2 separate regions of the Homo sapiens genome follow, and region 1 is linked to region 2. The links are contacts of gene promoters, found by promoter capture Hi-C in human tissues and cell types (Jung and others, 2019). All regions are on one chromosome and are shown on one strand. Each heading gives the region's core, a stretch centred on a gene start or on the middle of the fragment in contact. The rest is flanking DNA. Distances are from core to core; before and after follow the strand shown. Region 1 overlaps PDE2A (phosphodiesterase 2A). Region 2 holds the start of PDE2A (phosphodiesterase 2A).

The links. The method cuts DNA at HindIII sites, captures the fragments that hold promoters and counts their contacts. A contact is called where the count stands out against the background at its distance.
Region 1: a fragment that was not itself captured here is called in contact with the fragment with the promoter of PDE2A in region 2 in 8 of the 25 tissues and cell types used here (adrenal gland, dorsolateral prefrontal cortex, heart right ventricle and 5 more).

The regions. Positions count from the first base shown.
Region 1 is chr11:72,619,060-72,622,662 of GRCh38, forward strand. The region is part of intron 2 of PDE2A (phosphodiesterase 2A); the gene reads right to left. It overlaps LOC105369377 (a long non-coding RNA gene), which reads left to right. Exons shown (of 4, transcript XR_001748292.2): 4 at 1-130. It also overlaps the pseudogene RNU7-105P. Among named protein-coding and RNA genes, the nearest start is that of MIR139, 5.7 kb to the left of the region's middle. The HindIII fragment of the contact is 3,656 bases long and covers 1-3,347 here.
Region 2 is chr11:72,671,686-72,675,714 of GRCh38, forward strand. It overlaps PDE2A (phosphodiesterase 2A), which reads right to left and starts at 2,737. Exons shown (of 31, transcript NM_002599.5): 1 at 2,452-2,737. The coding sequence starts at 2,522. RefSeq lists enhancers at 1,306-1,932, 1,933-2,558, 2,559-3,185, 3,186-3,810, 3,961-4,029. The HindIII fragment of the contact is 13,863 bases long and covers 1-4,029 here.

The sequences.
Region 1 (3,603 bases), core at 270-2,769, 54 kb before region 2:
ACACACACACACGCACACACTGGGCTGGGTAAATATGTCAGCCTGGGATATCTTGTGGGACTGTTGTGAATCTGTGGGTGCCTTAGAACCCCAAAGCCTTGAAAAGATGATGATGCCCTCCCACCAGACCCTCGGACCCTCTATACAATTCAAACTAAATTTTATCTTGGAAATGAAAATTAAAATAGTTTTTGTGTGGTTTTTCTGATTGCAAAATTCTGGATACACTCATCAGAACTGACCTCTCCTCTCACTCTGTGCAGAACTCCCGCTTTGCTGGGGACCTAAGCATGTGTGCAGCCTGCCCATTAATGGTCCATAGTGGCGAGCCCCTACGGACCATCACATCATCATGGCAGACTATGTTCCCTGGGTCACTGGGAGAATTTCCTTGTGAAAGTATGTAGGTCTGTGTCTCTGTAGGAATCTGTAACCCACATGGGTCGTGAGAGTGTAAACATGTGTGAGTACCCTGTGTCTATGTGTGTGCACTGGCCATCTGCACGTGGGAGTGACCATGTGGGCCTGCATCTATGCATATGTGATTCAGGTCATTGATGTCCATGTGACAGTGGTATAGTCAGTATGTGGCTGTCTGGGGTGCTGTGAATGCGCTGGTGGTTAGTCTTGTCTCCAAATGAGTGAGTGAACGTGTGGCTGAGAGTGGTGGAATCTGAGAGGGTCTAATTCTCCTCCTCTGCGCACCCCTGTCACTTCTCCCATCGCCTCCCTCAGATGCGGGCTCATCTGCCTGCCCTGCCACACACCACATGTACTGGACAAGTCTTTGGACCTTCCTGGGCTCAGTTCCTCATCCGTAAAATGGTCTCTTCCCCCAGAGCTGCTGAGAAGATTAAGCTGAGCCATCAAACCTTGCCTAAGCTGACTCCCAGCAGGGGGCTGGGGCCACCTGTGTGCACATTAGAAAGGAGGGACCCCAATTCTCTGGGCAGATGCGGGCCTGAGGGGAAAGGCTTGGTGAGGGAGAGTGGGCTCAGTTTCAGCACCACCCCACCTCTGCTGGAGCTCCTGTGCAAGGTATAGCCTGCACGGTTAAGAGACTTTGGCCTTGCAGGTGACCAAGAAAGGGCAGCTTCCTTTCTTCCTGCCCCACCTTCAGGTGTGCAGCCTGGAACTAGAGGGTCTCTGATTATAGGACTGGGGTAGACACATTCCAGATGAGACTCAGAGGACACTTACCCCTCCTCACTTCCCTGGGGCCCTGTGCTCTCCACCTACCCCTCAGTGCTCCCTCCCCAAGGCCCAGGAGAAGGCCCCTCAGAAGCCACAAGGGGGACTGACCAGAGCTGGGATGCAGAGCTAGGCCAACTGGGGCCTCTGAGACTCCCCAGTTCCACTCCCATTTTTGGAAAGGGAGACTGAGGCCCAGAGAGTAGCAGGGACCCTCCCAGGAACACAAGCGAACCCAGGAAGTCCAGACTCCTGTTTCAAGGCCTCTGTAGTTGGGTTTGAGAAGACCCAAGCTTTGGACTCTGTTGGCTCCTGAAAGGAGCCCAAGGAAGTGGGTAAAGGTCCCAAAAGACAGGCACTTTGACACCTGTGCCTCAGCTGCGGGTATGGACTCCTATCCACCCCCACCCTCCCGACCGGGACCAGATCCCCTACTGGTGTGATTAACCAAATTATGGGGCTTTTTCTTGAGCAAATTGCATTGGCCTAATTGGATGAGGCTGCAGGAGCCTGGGCTGGAGGCTGACAGTGGTAAGGACGGCAGGGGAGAGGAGGGGGCAGGAGTGAGTGGGCAGGAGGGGGTATCGCTGACAACACCAAGCAGGGGACAGAAGTTGGGGGAGAGGGAGAGAGGAGGGCTGTGGGTGTAAGAGGACACCTCACTCAGCGCACCTTCACTGTGCTCCTACTGGTGCTCCTGTTATTTGGGGACCTGGGGTGCAGGTGTTGAGGTTGCTGCTCCCCAAGAGACCATAGAGTATTTACCAAGTGCCAGAGACTGCATGCATTGGAGCACTGCTTCATGCAATCCTCCTAAGAGCTCCCATTTTATACTTGAGGAAATTGAGGCTCAAGAGATAAAATGACCTGCTGAATGTCAGAGCCTAGACAGGGCTGTCTGACACCACAGGCCCTGCTCTTAATCAGCACCTACAACATCCTGCTGAAGTGCCCACATCCTGCCTCCAGGAAGCCTTCCTGGGTATTCAGAGAAGGGAGGAGCTCGCATCTGGGCACAGACACCATTTCTGTTCCCATTCAGTGTTTCTCCTCATCTACCCTACAATGTCCATGCTCCCTCCCATACTCAGCAGCTGAAGCTGGGGCTGAGCCCACTTGAATCACATGCAGCCCGGTCACCTATAGCACAGCTTCAGTCCCTCTTACTCCCATGCAGAGTCCTGCACTGTGTCACACTCATCAACCAGGATGACACAAGAAGACATGACACCTGTGGCCTTCACACAGCAGGTCCCACCTGCTCGGTGACACACAGTCATTTCAGGGTCCACAGCGTCCCACTGTCCCATGTCACTGGGTGTCACAGGGCCACACACACAGTGATCTCTCACTGTCACCCTCACTTGGAGTCTCCCATATCTTCAGTGTTGCACCCATGTTCCCAAAGCCACCATGTCACCCTCACACAGCATCAGACACAGTTCCACACTGGCTCTGTGTCACTGTTACATTTCAGCATCATCCAGGACCTCCTAGCCTTAAAAAACAAAAATCCAAAGTCACATCTATTTTAGAATTTGTCTAGCAGGTTTTTCAGTCTTCACCGGAAAGCTCCCCCCACCAAAAAAAAAGTCTACCTTTGGTGAAATGACATCATGTCTGGGATTTGCTTTAACATATTTCAGCGAAGCAACCTATGAAATGGGAGAAAAATATTTGCAAAGCTTTTATCTGATAAAGAGGTAATATCTGGAATATATAAAGAACCCCTGCAATTCAATAACAACAAAAAAGCAAACAACCCAATGTTTTAAATGGGCAAAGGACTTGAATCAACATTTTCCCAAAGAAGATATACAAGTGGCCAACCAGCACATGAAAAGATGCTCAACTTCACTAATCATTAGGGAAATGCAAATCAAAACCACAATGAAATGTCACCCCACACCCATTAGGATGGCTACCATTAAAAAATAAAAGAAAAAAAAGAACAGAAAATAACACATGTTGGCAAGGATGTGGAGAAACTGAAACCCCTGTACACTGTCCGTGGGAATGTAAAAAGATACAGAAAACAGTATGGCAGTTCCTCAAAAACCAAAAAATAGAATGACTGTGTGATCCAGCAAGCGTACTTCTAGGTATACATCTGAAAGAATTGGAAGCAGGATCTTGAAGAGATATTTGTACACTTATGTTCATAGCAGCATTACTCACAATAGCTAAAATGTGAAAGCAACCCAAGTGTCTGGTGTTGGATGGATGTGGTCTGTCCATACACTGGAATATTATGTGGCCATAAAAAGGAAGGAAATCCTGTCACATGCTACAACATGGGTAAAACTTGAAGACGTTATGCTAAGTAAACTTAAAAACCAGTCACAAAAAGACAGATACTACATTATTCCAATTACTTGAGGTATCTAGAGTAGTCCAAGTCATAGAGACAGA
Region 2 (4,029 bases), core at 1,487-3,986:
AAGAGGTTCCGGGCAGGGCCTGAAGGAGAATGATATTGAGGGTCAGGTCTGATGAAGAGGTTGAGCCCCAGCCTTGCAGCCAAAGGGTAGTGATGAAGCCATAGTCTCAGTTTCCCTGTCTGGCAAGAGATGGCTCCATGATCTCTGACCCTCTGCATCCTAGCTAGAAACACTACAAAGATCTCTCCCACTACCTCAGCCCACCCACGCCCAGCTTTCCTGAGCCTTCCATGAGCCTTTTCCCTCATGAGATCCTGACTTACTGAGATGTCTGCACTACACCCCTGACCCCAGTCCAAGCCTGAGCCACCTAGACATTCCCTTCCCTGTTCTCATCTATCCAGCCTTTCCCAAGTTCTCAAAAAGCTCCAGAACTCACTGACCCCTGTATTGGCTTGGCCTCCACTCTAGCCTCCTGGCCCCACCTCTCTCTTCCAGTTCAACCCAGACAATGCCACCGAGGCAGGTTTCTTTATTTTTCTTCTTCTTTTTTTTTTTCTTCTTTTGAGACAGAGTCTCACTTTGTCACCCCCAGGCTAAAGTGCAGTAAGGCAATCTCAGCTCACTGCAACCTCCACCTCCCAAGTTCAAGCGATTCTCATATTCTCATGCCTCAGCCTTCTAAGTAGCTGGGACTACAGGCGTGTGCCACCACACCCAGCTAATTTTATTGTATTTCTAATAGACACTGGGTTTCACCATGTTGGCCAGTCTCGTCTCAAACTCCTGGCCTCAAGTGATCCACCTGCTTCTGCCTCCCAAAGTGATGGGATTACAGGCATGAGCCACCATGCCTGGCCCAGGGCAGGTTTCTAGAACCCAAATCTGATCATGTCTCTCCCCTATATAAAACCTTTCTGGGCTCCCCAGGGCTCTCTGGATAAAGCCTAAGAGTCCTGGATCTTAAAGTTCTATTGAATGTGGGTCCTGCCTGCCCCCCACTCTATACAGTGTCTTCACTGCTCCAGGACATGCCCAGCCCAGGGCCTTTGCTTATGCAGTTCCCACCCCACCCCCACCTGTTAGCATGACGTTGATCTCTACTGCTTAATTATTCTCAAGCTATTTTATGTCTAAGAAGCTTAGGAAGCCCCAGAGGGCAGAGTCATTATTGCCTATTTCTTTTCTGCATCTTTCCCACAGGGTGTAGAATGAATTGTCCTGAGTTCAAAGAGGCGGTCATACATTCAGCCCCTCCCTGCCCTGCATCAGTGGGCCATGGTGTCCCAGCTGTATCCTCAATTGCCAGGGGAAGGAAACAGCCACCCACACACACTCAGATGAATACACACATATAGATACACACACACACCAGCCACAGAAGCACCGATATACACACTAGCACCATGATCACACACCCACACCAGAATACTTATACGCACACAGCCACATCCACCTCCACACACAGCAATGCTATTATTCACACACTAACAAATACACACACATAAATGCACATGGAACAGATAAAAAATGCACACTGATTCACTCTATTTTGCAGACACAACACACATAATATACAAACTCAACCTAATAGACACACCTACATACATATGCAGACCAACCTGCACTCACACTCAGACACATGCGAATAAACTCTCACTCACACAGGGATGATCACAAACTCTGACAGGCTGCTTTACATCCAACCACCAAGGACCCTAGAGCTCTACAGGCCCCTCTACACCCAACATGTCCCTTACATTCCACATGTATACACACACACACACACACACATACCCTGCCTACCACCTCGGCAGCCCTTAGTAGAGGGGTGTCGCCACGGCGCCCCCCACTCACTTGCACATGCACCCCCCTGCACGTGGACACACACGAGGCTGGCACCATATTCCATCTGGCTCCGTAGAACCCTATCCTGGGACAGACGCTTTGGGGTAAAGTTTCATAAAGTGGTGTCCCTGAACCCCAATTCCCAATTCCATGGAAGGTGGTTACCTCTAACCCTCTCTTGCTCCAGGGCCACTCTTATTCATATTTTCTCCATCTTTCCCCCTCCCCACCTCCTTCACACACACATAGCCTTGGTGGGCCAAGACACTCTCCCTCTCCGGGTCCTGAACCAGCCTATTGCAGCCCCGAGAGCTCCTCCCAACTACTTGGCAGACCTCCCCCTCCCCACATACACCCTCAGCCCTTGAAGAACCGGTTCAGGTTCATTATCAGCCCCTCCTCCAACCAGCAGCCCCTTCCATGGGACCCCAGCCTCATCACCTACTAGGTTGACGTTAGACACCCTCATTCTGCTCAGAGGTAACCTGCCCCCACCCCAGGCTGCAGTCTGGCAACGCGGGGAGGAGGGGTGCCCAGGAACAGGATCGATCCTTCCACGTGGCTCAGCTCCATGCCAACCCCAGCTCCTTGGAGGGACTCCCAGGACCCTGTCTGTGGCACCTCTCACAGCCGCTCACCACCCCAGCCCCTCACTATACTCACGGCTCAGCCGGTCGCGCTGCCGGGTACTGCTGGCTCCTGCAGAGGATGGAGTGGCCGCATGCCTGCCCCATCACTCCTCATCGTCCGCCTCCCCAGCCAGACTAAGGTGGCACCTCGCCCTGTCCCCGCTGCCTGGAGTTCAGGGCAGGGCACCCCCAGCAGGCACAGGGACCAAGAGCAGTGGGCTGCCCCCTACTCAGCCTGGACTCAACACCCCAATCCAGCTCTGCTGCCCCGCTGCTCCCGCCTCTCCCGCTGCCACTGCCTCTGCTGCTCGGCTGGCTCTGGGAGGAGGTTGGAGCAGGTCTGATAATGCAGAAGGGGGAGGGAGGAGGGAGGAGGAACAGAGAGAGGCCCAGACAGAGAGGGAGAGAGGGAGAGAGGGAGGGGTAGAGAGAGAGTCTGACTGGGAGAGAGGAAAAAAGACTCACAGACAGAGAGACTGAGAGATAAACAGAGACAGGAAGGGGGACAGTAACACATGAAGAGGGAGAGGAGAGAGGGATCAGAGCCTTAGCGAGATCAAGATGGAAGTACAAAGAGACCAGAGAGGCATAGAGAAACACACACACAGAGGAACAAAGGCAGAAAAGGAAAAAAAATCAGAGGCAGAAATAGAAAGAGAGTGGGGTAGGGGGAAAGGGGAGTGGCTGACAGAGGAGAGAGGGGAGAGGACGAGGGATTTACAATCCTCATGGGCTAGGATGGGGCTGGGGACTTGAGGGGCAGCAGACCCAGACCCTCTGCTGCCCCATCGCAGAAGCCTTCAGGATGAGGGGACACGCTTGTGCCCTCAAGTCTGAGAGATCAGGCCTCCATGCACAGCTAGCTGCCCTCTCCTCTGGGCTCCCTCACCCGGTGTGTATCATCTCCTAGCGTGCATCCCAGCCTGGAGCTGGGTCCACGGAAGACTTAGGGGGCTTTACTGATGGCCTTTGGACTCAGAGCCTTGTCACAGGGCCCACCTCTTGGTGGCTTGGTTTAGCTGGGACTTGGAGCTGATGCGTGAGCATGGACTTCTACCAGGATCTGTGGAGACCTAGGCCACAGCCTGCCCCACATGGCCTTCGCTGCTCACAGACTACAGGCATGGGGGAAGGCCTGTTGCACCCCCACCCTGCTTCCAAAGAGGACTCCCTAGGATAAAGCTATAACCTAGTGAAATAGAGGCATTTTAGGCCCTAGGACAGATAGAGAGTTGTCACAGCAGAGCTACTATTGTATGCAGGAGAAACAGCTCCACACCTTGAGGCAGGAAATGGGGATTTGGATCCTGGCTTCACCATTAACTTACTTATTCATTGGCCTACCAGTGGCTGAGCTCATGGCTCACACTATCCCTTGTCTCAGAGAAGCACTCGGGCTGGGGAGTGGGGAGGGGAGACTTGCAGGCTGTGACAGAAAGAAGCACAGGGTCTGTGAAGCCCAGAGGGACCCCTGACCTAGTTTGGGTGGTGGGGGGGCGGTTAGCAAGCATTTCTGGAAGAGAGGGTCCAAGCTGGGTCTTTTAAGGCAGAAGAGGGTATATTCCAGGGTAGAGGAGCTACAGCAAACCCTCCACAGCAACCCCATCTCTCT